2 separate regions of the Homo sapiens genome follow, and region 2 is linked to region 1. The links are contacts of gene promoters, found by promoter capture Hi-C in human tissues and cell types (Jung and others, 2019). All regions are on one chromosome and are shown on one strand. The core of a region is centred on a gene start or on the middle of the fragment in contact, and the rest is flanking DNA. Distances in the headings are between cores, read along the strand shown. Region 1 holds the start of TEAD2 (TEA domain transcription factor 2). Region 2 holds the start of CGB2 (chorionic gonadotropin subunit beta 2).

Region 1 (5,358 bases), core at 2,859-5,358:
GGAAGGCTGAGGCAGCAGAATCGCTTGAACCCGGAAGGCGGAGGCTGCAGTGAGCTGAGATCACGGCACTGCACTCCAGCTTGGGAGACACAGTGACTTTTCTCTCAAAAACAACAACAACAAAAAGATCTGGGTGTTTAAAAAGAGTCTGGGACCTCTGTCTTTCTTCTGTTGCTCCCACTTTCCATGTGCCAGGCCTGCTCCCACTACCCCCTCCGCCATGATTGGAGGCTTCCTGAGGCCTCACCAGGAGCAGATGCCAGCTCCATGCTTCCTGGACAGCCTGCAGAACTGTGAGCCAAAATAAAGCTCTTTTCTTTCTTTCTTTCTTTTTTTTTTTTTTTGAGGTGGAGTCTGGCTCTGTCACCAGGCTGGAGTGCAGTAGCACGATCTTGGCTCACTGCAACCTCCGCCTCCCGGGTTCAAGCGATTTTCGTGCCTCAGCCTCCCGAGTAGCTGGGATTATGGGCACACACTGCCACTCCCAGCTAATTTTTGTATTTTTAGTAGAGACGGGGTTTCACCATGTTGGTCAGGATGGTCTCGATCTCCTGACCTCCTGATCCGCTCACCTAAAGTGCTGGGATAACAGGCATGAGCCACTGGCCCAGCCTAAAGCTCTTTATCAATTATCCAGCCTTGCCAGGCACAGTAGCTCACGCCTGTAATCCCAGCAATCCCAGCACTTTGGGGGGCTGAGGTGAGTGGATCACCTGAGGTCAGGAGTTCGAGACCAGCCTGGACAACATGGTGAAACCCCATCTCTACTAAAAATACAAAATTACCCAGGCATGGTAGTGCATGTCTGTAATCCCTGCTACTCGGGAGGCTGAGACAGGAGAATTGCTTGAACCCGGGAGGCAGAGGTTGCAGTGAGCCAAGATCGCGCCACTGCACTCCGGCCTGGGCAACAGAGCTAGACTCCATTTCAAAAAATAAACAAATACATAAATAACCCAGCCTCGGGTAATTCTTTATAGCAATACAAACGGACTAACACACATGCCGAGAAGACAGATGAACGCACAGGAAGCAGCTTCTTCCTTGAACCTGAACCTGCCCATGCGAGGATGACCCTAAGAAGACCGGCCCATCCCAGACAGAAGCCCACAAGTCCATTCCGAGACCTGTTTTCGAGTTCGGGTCTTCCCCGTTCTCAGCTTGATGTAGCGGGCGATCAGTTCATTCCGACCTGAAGATTCAAAGACGGAACAGAGTTAGTTAGACTTTCAACAGAACTTCCCCACAGCATGGACACCAGGGAAGAAGAAAGCAGCATGGGTCCCCAAAGGTCTGCAGCAAGTGGGCTGCCGGTCCCCTCAGCTACGTGGAAGCCAGACTGCTTGGGTTCAAATCCCAGCTCCATCACGCACTGGCTCTGTGCGACCATAAGCAAATCACTTAACCTAGCTGTGCCTCAGTTTCCTCATCTGTGCAAATGGTGATGCTAGCTCCTACTTCAGAGTGCTCCATAAACCTTGGTTACTGTCATTATTCATCAGTGGGGGCCAGGGCAAAAGACAGAAGTAGACTCACCATACATCTTGCCTTCATCAGACAAAATTATTTTCCGGCGGCCGCAGGGTGGATAGATGGCCAGGGCCTCCTGGAAGCTCTGCTCAATGTCTGGGCTCCACACCCCCTCTGCATCCGGGCCCCCGTCACCCCCAGCCCCCTCACTGCCGCCGGTACCCTCCTCACTGCCTTCCTCACTGCCCGTCCAGCCGCTGCCATCGTCCAGGGCGGCCCCAGCCCGGGGTTCCCCCATCTGGGCCTGGAGGAACACAGAACTCAGCAAGCTTCCCCCAAACCCCACCCTCAAGGGACTTGAAGCTGAGAGGGCTGGGACTCTGGACCACTGGGTCTGAGGGAGGAGGGGCTGGGGACCTGGACTCCTGGGTCTGAGGGAAGAGGAGCTGGGGGGTATTCCTGGGTCTGAGGGAGGAGGATCTGGGGCCTGAACTCCTGAGTCTGAGGGAGGAGGGGCTGGGGCCCGGACTCCTAGGACTGAGGGAGGAGGATCTGGGGCCTGGACTCCTGGGTCTGAGGGAGCGGGGGCTGGAGGCCTGGACTCCTGGGTGTGAGGGAGAAGGGGCTGGGGTCTGGACTCCTGAGTCTGAGGGAGGAGAAGGAGCTGGATTTCTTGGAAAGCTGAGGATGGGAGTGTTCTCAGAGTTTCCAGAGGAACTCAATTGTGATGAAGTCACAATGATTACCCTAGAGTAATGCCGAGGGCCATGAAGGCTAAAGGTTCGGGTATGAATTACGGGTTTTAAAGAAGACAGGAGGCAAAAGTTAGTGGTGGGGAAGGAAGGTGTGGGTGAAACTTCCCCTGTCCCACCCCAAGAACAGGTGGTAAGATGTGAGCAGCAGCTGCCAGAAAAGAAGAGGGGCCAAGCAAGACTGAGGGGAGGTCTAGAGAGAGGGGGACAGAGACCCAGAGAGGGAGGGGGACAGAGACCCAGAGAGGGGATGGGGACAGAGACCAGCAAGGGGGGGGGACAGAGACCCAGAGAGAGAAGGGGACAGAGACCAGAGAGAGAGGGGGACAGAGACCAGTGAGGTGGGGATAGAGACCCAGAGACAGAGGGGGACAGAGACCAGAGAGAGAAGGGGACAGAGACCCAGTGAAGGGGGGGACAGAGACCAGTGACGGAGGGGACAGAGACCCAGAGAGAGAGGGGGACAGAGACCAGAGGGAGGGGGGGACAGAGACCAGAGGGAGGGGGGGACAGAGACCAGAGAGGGGGACAGAGACCCAGAGAGAGGGACAGAGACCCAAAAAGAGAGGGAGACAGAGACCCAGGGAGAGGGGGAGACAGAGACCAGAAAGAGGGGGACAGAGACCGGGGGGGGGGGACAGGGACCAGAGAGAGGGGTCCAGAGGCCCAGAGAGGGAGACAGAGACCCAGAGAGAGAGGGTGACAGAGACCCAGAGAGAGGGGGACAGAGACCCAGAGAGAGAGGGACAGAGACCCAGAGAGAGAGGGGACCAGAGACCCAGAGAGAGGGGGACACAGACTCAGAGAGAGGGGGACAGAGGCTCAGAGAGAGGGCAACAGAGACCCAGAGAAAGGGAGACGGAGACCTAGAAAGGGCAGGGACAGAGACTCAGGGCAGCAGCTGAGGCCGAGACCAGGAGAGACCCACAGAACCACAAGCTGGGGGACAGGGGCGCCCTGCCATCAGAAGAGCCAGAACAAAGGGCCCAGGCGTCCCCTCCCCCAGCTTCCCACAACCCCCATCAGGGGAGGGGCTTGCCGGCCAGGGCGACTCCCCTCCGGCACCGGGCCCCGCCCCTCCCCTCCCCCGTGCGCCGTGGGCTCTGATCCAACTCAAGTTCCCAGTGACTTTCCGGAGGCCGGGAACAGGGAAAACTTTTTCCAATACAGTCAGATCCCGCCTCCCCGGAGGCTCCATGTCCTCCACAGCTTTCCCAGGACCCCAGAGTCCAGGCCCCTATTCCCCTCCTCCCGCCGACCATAGCAGACAAAGACCCCAGCCAAGCCCAGTGGCGCTGCGGCGTTCAGGACCCCCGTAGGCCAAAATCCCAGCCCAGCCCTTCCCCATGTGGCCAGACAAAGGGACGGTGGAGCCGGGTAAGAAAGGTCCCCCTAATTTCCCGCCCCAGACCCTAAACCTCCAAAGAGGCAAGACTTAAGATCCAGAAAGCCCCGTAACCTCCCCTCGGCCACCCCAGAGGCCCTCCCTTCTCCGTAAGAAGGACCAAATGCCCCCCAGATTACACAAGGGGTCCTTCTCACTCCAAAGTGACACCGCCGCAGACGCACGCCCCACACCCCGCCAGCGCCCTTGGCCCGCACCCGCTCCTGCGCGCACGCCCAAACTCAGACCCAGCCGCAGGCACCCTAACTCCGGCCAGAGTTCCCACTCCTCACTGAGGCTCGGTCACGGGAGCAAATTCGGGCCCCCGGGCAAAAAGAGGGCTGCGAACCATTCAGAGACGGTCCCGCAAACGCACGCCTCACCTCCTAAGAAGCAACTCCCCACCCCAACTCACACACCCCAAAGCAGGATCCCCGACTCCCGCCGGCGCCTTCCTACCTCCCGGCCTGGGGCTGGGGAGCCGCGGGCGGGCGGGGCGCTGCGAGGGAGAAAGTTGCCGGGAGCTTTGTTTGGGAAAAGTGGGAGGGACCGGAGGGGGGGGCGGGCCCGGCCGGCGGACAGCGGGAAGGGGGATCCGACGGTGACAGTTTGGGGAAGGATTTTTGCTTTGGGAGAGATTAGTCTATCTCGGGGCTGGTAGGAACTCAGGATTTGGGTGCTTGGGAAAGGAGGGGGATTGGGGGTTCGGACTCCAAGTCGGAGGGAAAAGGCTGATAGGAGCCAGAAACCCCTGATCTGAGGGAGGAGAGGCTGGGGGCTGGGACTCCTGGGTCTGGGGGCTGGGACTCCTGGGTCTGGGAGAGGAAGCGGCTGGAGAGAGATATGGGCTCCTAGGTCTGAGAGGGGACGGGGCTAGGCGCCTGGAATCCCGGCTACCCTCGTGTTTGTGTATTGGGGGTGCGGAAGTGATACGAATACAAAGAGTCTTTACTGTTAAGCCCTGAGGTTTTTTTTCTTTTTTTCTGTTTGGTTTTTGGTTTTTTTGTTTTTTGTTTTTTTTGTTTTTTTTTTTTTTTGAGGATTGGGGTCTGGGGATGGGTTTTGACTGATTCCTATGACGACCTGGTTTCCTTGTGACCTCACCACAGTTAAGAGTCGTGGGCAGGACCACCGGGAGTTTATTGGAGGCCCACGTAGGTGCAGATTCCTCATCTACAGGCGCTAGTGGACTGGAGACGGCTGGCGGCTGTCCCGGGACGGGGAAGAGAGCTTTGGTGCCTGAGGGAAGATGGCTTAGGGCCCGGTCCCTTAAGGGTGAAAGGCTGCGTGTTCAAAATTACGGGACTAGAGGGGGCGGGAGTCCGGACCTGAGGTCCTCAGGGAAAAGGAAGTCTGATTCTGGGTTCCTTGGAAGATGAAATATAAGACTGGATTTAGGGTTTCCGGAGACAACGGGACTTTTTAGTGGAGCGGGAGCGGGAAAACCAGAAGGGACACGGAGAAAAGGTTCCGAAACAGATACACAATTAGAGTGAGAGCTAAAAGGGATGCTTGTACTCCGGTGTCTCCAGTAGGAGGAGCCTAGGACTGGAACTTGGGGTGATGAGGGCAAGATCTGGGACGCAGGGGCGTGGTCCAGTGCAGGGGCGTGGCCCAGTGCAGGGGCGTGGCTTTCAGCCAAGGGGCGTGGCCATTGCGATTGGGCGGGACTCCGAAACGAGGGCCGCAATCAGAGAACACCGCCAGGACTTCCAGGACTTGGTCTCCAGGACTGAGGTCAACTGACGTGGG
Region 2 (5,358 bases), core at 1,892-4,391, 330 kb before region 1:
GAGGTCTCCCTATGTTTCCCCACTGCACTTGAACTCCTGGGCTCAAGCCATCCTCCTGCTGTGGCTCCTGAGTAGCTGGGACTACAGACTCAAGCCACCACGCCTGGCCACATTCCACAATTTAGAGAAAGTGCACAACCTGGAATCCTAGGGAGACCCCGATTCACCTCAAAACTGCCACTAAGGAGGTAAAACGCTGCCCCTCTGAGGCAGGCTTCAGTTTCCCTGTGTGTGAAATTGACCTGGCGCTGGGAGAGGCTGGTGGAGGCGCGGATTTTGCAGTTTCCCTACAACATTCTGGAAGCCTGTGGTTCTGGGAAAGGTTGGCGTGGAGAAGACTGGGAAACAACCAGTGGTCACCAGAGCTGTAGCACCTCCTCCACCTCCGAGCTCTGGGGCTGGGAACCCCAGGCTTCGGGGCCCCTGTGGAGGACGCAGGTGGCCCCCTCTTTCCTGACATCTCAGGAGAGGGAGGGGCAACCGGCTAGCAGAAGAAAAGCACAGGAAGGTTATACAGCCAGGTGGGGAAGGGGCCAAATCCCTGAACAACCCCTTCCCAGAGTTCCTCTTCAAGTGCAGGGTACCCAAGAGTCAAGGCCCCGCCCCCTTTCCAGAGGCCCCTTTTCTACCCAGGTGATGGGTCCTAGCTGGGATGGGAGGCAGATGGACGGAGGGGAGGGGGGAGGAGGGGAAGGGAGAGGCAGTGGATGAAGGAGGATGGAAGAGATGACATCCCCCTCGGCCCATTCATCCCATTCAGGTCCCCAAGCCGCGCCCCTCTCCGCCCCACCTGCACTGCCAGTGCCAACATCAGAGGGAGGAAGAGGGAGCTCGGCTTAGAAGGCTGAGGCCCTGCCACCTGGGCCACACCGATCACGTGGCCTTCCTTCTCCCCACAGAAGGCCAGACCATGGACACCTCCTGAGCTGGAGGTCATCCTGCATCTCCACCCTGTTTTCTTTTTCTTTCTTTCTTTCTTTTTTTTTTTTTTTTTGAGATGGAGTCTCGCTCTGTCGTGGAGGCTGGAGTGCAGTGGCGCGATCTCTGCTCACTGCAAGCTCCCCCTCCTAGGTTCACTCCATTCTCCTGCCTCAGCCTTCCAAGTAGCTTGGACTACAGGGGCCCGCGACCAAGCCCAGATAAGTTTTTGTATTTTTAGTAGAGACGGGGTTTCACCGTGTTAGCCAGGAAGGTCTCGATCCCCTGACCACATGATCCGCCCGCCTGGGCCTCCCAAAGTGGTGGGATTACAGGAGCGCAGCACCACGCCCAGCTAATTTTGGTATTAACAGTAGAGATGTTGTTTCACAGTGTTGGCCAGGCTGCTTTTGAACTCCTGACCTCAAGTCAAACACCCGCCTCAGCCTCCCAAAGTGCTGGGACCACAGGTGTGAGCCATAGTGCCTGACCTGTAGTTGTTGAATATTTATTATTAATCTACAAGTTGGGTGTGATGCAAGTCCCATACATGGAGTCCCCCAAACTTCTAGAGCAAGGGCTTCCCCATAATCCTGGCAGGCAGGCCTCCCCTGGGGTTCCCAACTTCTGACCTCACTGAAGTGTTTATCCTCTTCTCTAATCCCAGCCTCCTTTTCCCTGTTTCCATGTCCTCTGAGAGATGCTCCCGCTCCCCCAGGCTCCCTCTGCATCCCCCTCATTTGCTTCCTCCCCAGTGTGTCAATGGAGTCCTAACCCCCACCCTTGACATTGTCCCCTTTTCCTCCTCCAGAGTGGGACCTTATTTTCCCCCAAGTGGTCCTGTCTAGGGGTGCCGCTGCCGGGCCCCCTCTGGTCTTCCTGCTGGAGACTGGGGCCTTTTGGGAGTCAGCAGGCACCCGGGCCAACCGCAGCCAGCGAGGGGTGAGCGATACTTCACCGGCGAGTCATCAGGGTGAGCTGGCCGTGTGCGATGCAGTCAGTGTCTGGGTGACAGACCCCCGGACCGCTGTGGACTTGGTTGTGCTCGAGGTGGAGGTGTTGGGTGAGGTGCCTGCAGCTGGCAGCAGTTCCCTCCACCAACACTTCTTTGTCACCTGCTTCAAGGCCGATAACTCTGAAGAAGGTGGCCCAGGGGTAGGTGGAGGGGCTGCCGCTGGGGTGTGGACCGGGGGGCACTGGGTGTCTGAGTGCAAGGCCAAGCAGTCCTATGTGCGGGCATTGACCGCTGATGCCCAGGGCCGTGTGGACTGGCGATGGATTCAAACTGGCACAGCCTGTGTCTGCACACTCCTCAGCCGGACTGGCCGGGCCTGAGACTTATACCCAGGAACTGGTCAGGCAGAAAAAGAACAGAGCTGGATGCTGAGAGACCTCAGGGTTGGCCCAGCTGCTCTACGGACGGACCCCAGTTGGGGAACTCATCAAATCATCGCAAAATCACAACTCTCTGAATTTGAGCTCAATCTCTGTAGGATGGGTGCAACAACGTGGGGTTTTGAAGGTTGAATAGGAGCTCTCCCAGGGGAACTTGAGGGTAATCATGATGATGATGATAATAATAATAGCCACTATTTACTGAGTGTTTACTCTTTCGTAGCCCTAATACATAACTCCTCGGATCAACTCTCATGGATTTGATCATTGGTGACCTTTGGTGTTAAGTTGCTGACTGCTCAGTCACAGAGGACACCACCTTGCTCATCCTGGGGAGTGGGAGGGCACATTTCACGATGTGCATGGGGGAGGAGGGAAACTGGAACATGCAAGCAGATGGCCAGGGGACCTTGAGGACATGGTCTACAGAAGGCCTTTAAGTATCTGGGAGCTGGGGTTCAAATGAGAAATCTTACTTGGTGAGAGTGGGCAGGGGTCGGCTTAGAATATTTTGTTTTGAGATAAAGAGCTACCGATCACACGGGGAGTATAAGCAAGGTTCAATGAGAAGTGATCAGGATGCTGGAGAGTTCAGCCCTGGGCGGGGAGCTCAAGTCAGGTTTCTAGCCCTCTTCCCTGTGCCAACCTATACCCTACACTGGGAAAGAAACAGACCTTAAAATTGTCCAGCTTGATGGCATCGCGGGGAAGGGACTAAGTCCAGATAATGTCCTCTGAGGCTGAGGCCTCGGGGGCAGGACACACCTCCTGCGGGCCTATTCAATAATCAGTTAAATCACCTGAAGCACACGCATTTCCGGGGACCGCTCCGGGCATCCTGGCTTGAGGGTAGAGTGGGCAGAGGTCCCTAAGGGAGAGGTGGGGCTCGGGCTGAATCCCTCGTTGGCGGCACCAGGGTCAAGTGGCTAACCTGGCAGCACAGTCACGGGGAGGCCCTCTCTCATTGGGCAGAAACTAAGTCCGAAGCCGCGCCCCTCCTGGGCGAGGAGGTTCCACCTCCTAGGTTCCTGTGATTCTCCTGCCTCAGCCCGAGTAGTGGGACATCCCACTTGCTCCCGCCATTCTGTTTACCACAGGTGACGACCGCCATGGCTGACAGGCAGGGAGGTCCCCCGAGGACCGAGCAAGCCTCGGTCTCCCAAAAAAAAAAAAGATACATTGAAGTAATTTAAAAACACTTAGGAAGATGTCATTTCTTCCTATCAAGGCGTCCTCCCTTTATGTTTTGTTATTATATAGGGAACGATAAAAAAATTTTTTTCTCAACCAATGTGGACCCGGTTGGCCTCGAACTCGTACCCTCGAACCCTCCCCTCCCTGAGGGCCCGAGGGCACGCGCAACCGGTCGGAGCCACAATAGCTCGGGGTGTCGGGGATCTCCTTTCTTCCTTTTGACCTTACGCAGGGTGATGGAGCCAATCAGGAGAGGCTCACCCCTGACGTCACCCAGTCCCCAGGGCCAGTGAGGGCCCTGCGTTCCGTGGCGCCCCCTGGAGGGAGGAAGGGGAACTGTATCTGAGAGAGAGCAGCCAATTGGGTCCGCTGACTCCGGCCGGGTTCCCGTGCCGCGTCCAACACCCCTCACTCCCTGTCTCACTCCCCCACGGAGACTCAATTTACTTTCCATGTCCACATCCCCAGTGCTTGCGGAAGATATCCCGCTAAGAGAGAGACATGTCAAAGGTAGGGTAGATCGACATTTCCAGGCACCAAAGATGGAGATGTTCCAGGAAAGACTGCAGGGCCCCTGGGCACCTTCCACCTGCTTCCAGGCCATCACTGGCATGAGAAGGGGCAGACCAGTGTGAGCTGTGGAAGGAGGCCTCTTTCTGGAGGAGCGTGACCCCCAGTAAGCTTCAGGTGGGGCAGTTCCTGAGGGTGGGGATCTAAAATGTTGGGGTATCTGAGATCCTCTGGGCTGTGGGGTGGGCTCTGAAAGGCAGGTGTCCGGGTGGTGGGTCCTGAATAGGAGATGCCACGAAGGGTCTCTGGGTCTTTGTGGGTGGTGTACCACGCGGGATGGGAAGGCCAGGACTCGGGGCTGCGGTCTCAGACCCGGGTGAAGCAGTGTCCTTGTCCCAGGGGCTGCTGCTGTTGCTGCTGCTGAGCATGGGCGGGACATGGGCATCCAAGGAGCCGCTTCGGCCACGGTGCCGCCCCATCAATGCCACCCTGGCTGTGGAGAAGGAGGGCTGCCCCGTGTGCATCACCGTCAACACCACCATCTGTGCCGGCTACTGCCCCACCATGGTGAGCTGCCCGGGGCCGGGGCAGGTGCTGCCACCTCAGGGCCAGACCCACAGAGGCAGCGGGGGAGGAAGGGTGGTCTGCCTCTCTGGTCAGGGGCTGCGGAATGGGGTGTGGGAGGGCAGGAACAGAGGGCTTCCTGGACCCCTGAGTCTGAGACCTGTGGGGGCAGCTGGGGAGCTCAGCTGAGGCGCTGGCCCCAGGCACATGCTCATTCTCCCACTCACACGGCTTCCAGACCCGCGTGCTGCAGGGGGTCCTGCCGGCCCTGCCTCAGGTGGTGTGCAACTACCGCGATGTGCGCTTCGAGTCCATCCGGCTCCCTGGCTGCCCGCGCGGCGTGAACCCCGTGGTCTCCTACGCCGTGGCTCTCAGCTGTCAATGTGCACTCTGCCGCCGCAGCACCACTGACTGCGGGGGTCCCAAGGACCACCCCTTGACCTGTGATGACCCCCGCTTCCAGGCCTCCTCTTCCTCAAAGGCCCCTCCCCCCAGCCTTCCAAGCCCATCCCGACTCCCGGGGCCCTCAGACACCCCGATCCTCCCACAATAAAGGCTTCTCAATCCGCACTCTGGCGGTGTCTTTCTGTGGGCTCAGGGCAACCACACACACAGGGTGGGTCCAGCTTCCAAACCATTTTATACAGAGTCACAGTACAGAACTCTGGTAGAAAACAGGGTGGACGGCTGGGCGTGGTGGCTCACGCCTGTAATCCCACCACTTTGGGAGGCCGAGGCAGGCGGATCATGAGGTCAGGAGATCGAGACCATCCTGGC

The links. Contacts are between HindIII fragments. The study calls those that stand out against the background at their distance.
Region 2: a fragment that was not itself captured here is called in contact with the fragment with the promoter of TEAD2 in region 1 in 1 of the 25 tissues and cell types used here (lymphoblastoid cells).

Annotation. Positions count from the first base shown.
Region 1 is chr19:49,358,308-49,363,665 of GRCh38, forward strand. TEAD2 (TEA domain transcription factor 2) reads right to left here and starts at 4,109. Exons shown (of 13, transcript NM_001256660.2): 1 at 4,026-4,109; 2 at 1,537-1,774; 3 at 1,128-1,192. The coding sequence starts at 1,768. It also overlaps a transcript of DKKL1 not described here. RefSeq lists enhancers at 1,438-1,938, 2,484-3,193, 3,194-3,902. The HindIII fragment of the contact is 13,886 bases long and covers 1-5,358 here.
Region 2 is chr19:49,028,088-49,033,445 of GRCh38, forward strand. It overlaps CGB2 (chorionic gonadotropin subunit beta 2), which reads left to right and starts at 3,803. Exons shown (of 3, transcript NM_033378.2): 1 at 3,803-4,017; 2 at 4,417-4,584; 3 at 4,820-5,151. The coding sequence starts at 4,009. The coding sequence ends at 5,134. SNAR-G2 (small NF90 (ILF3) associated RNA G2) reads right to left here and starts at 3,700; the gene lies at 3,582-3,700. It also overlaps the pseudogene NTF6G. The HindIII fragment of the contact is 6,350 bases long and covers 1-5,358 here.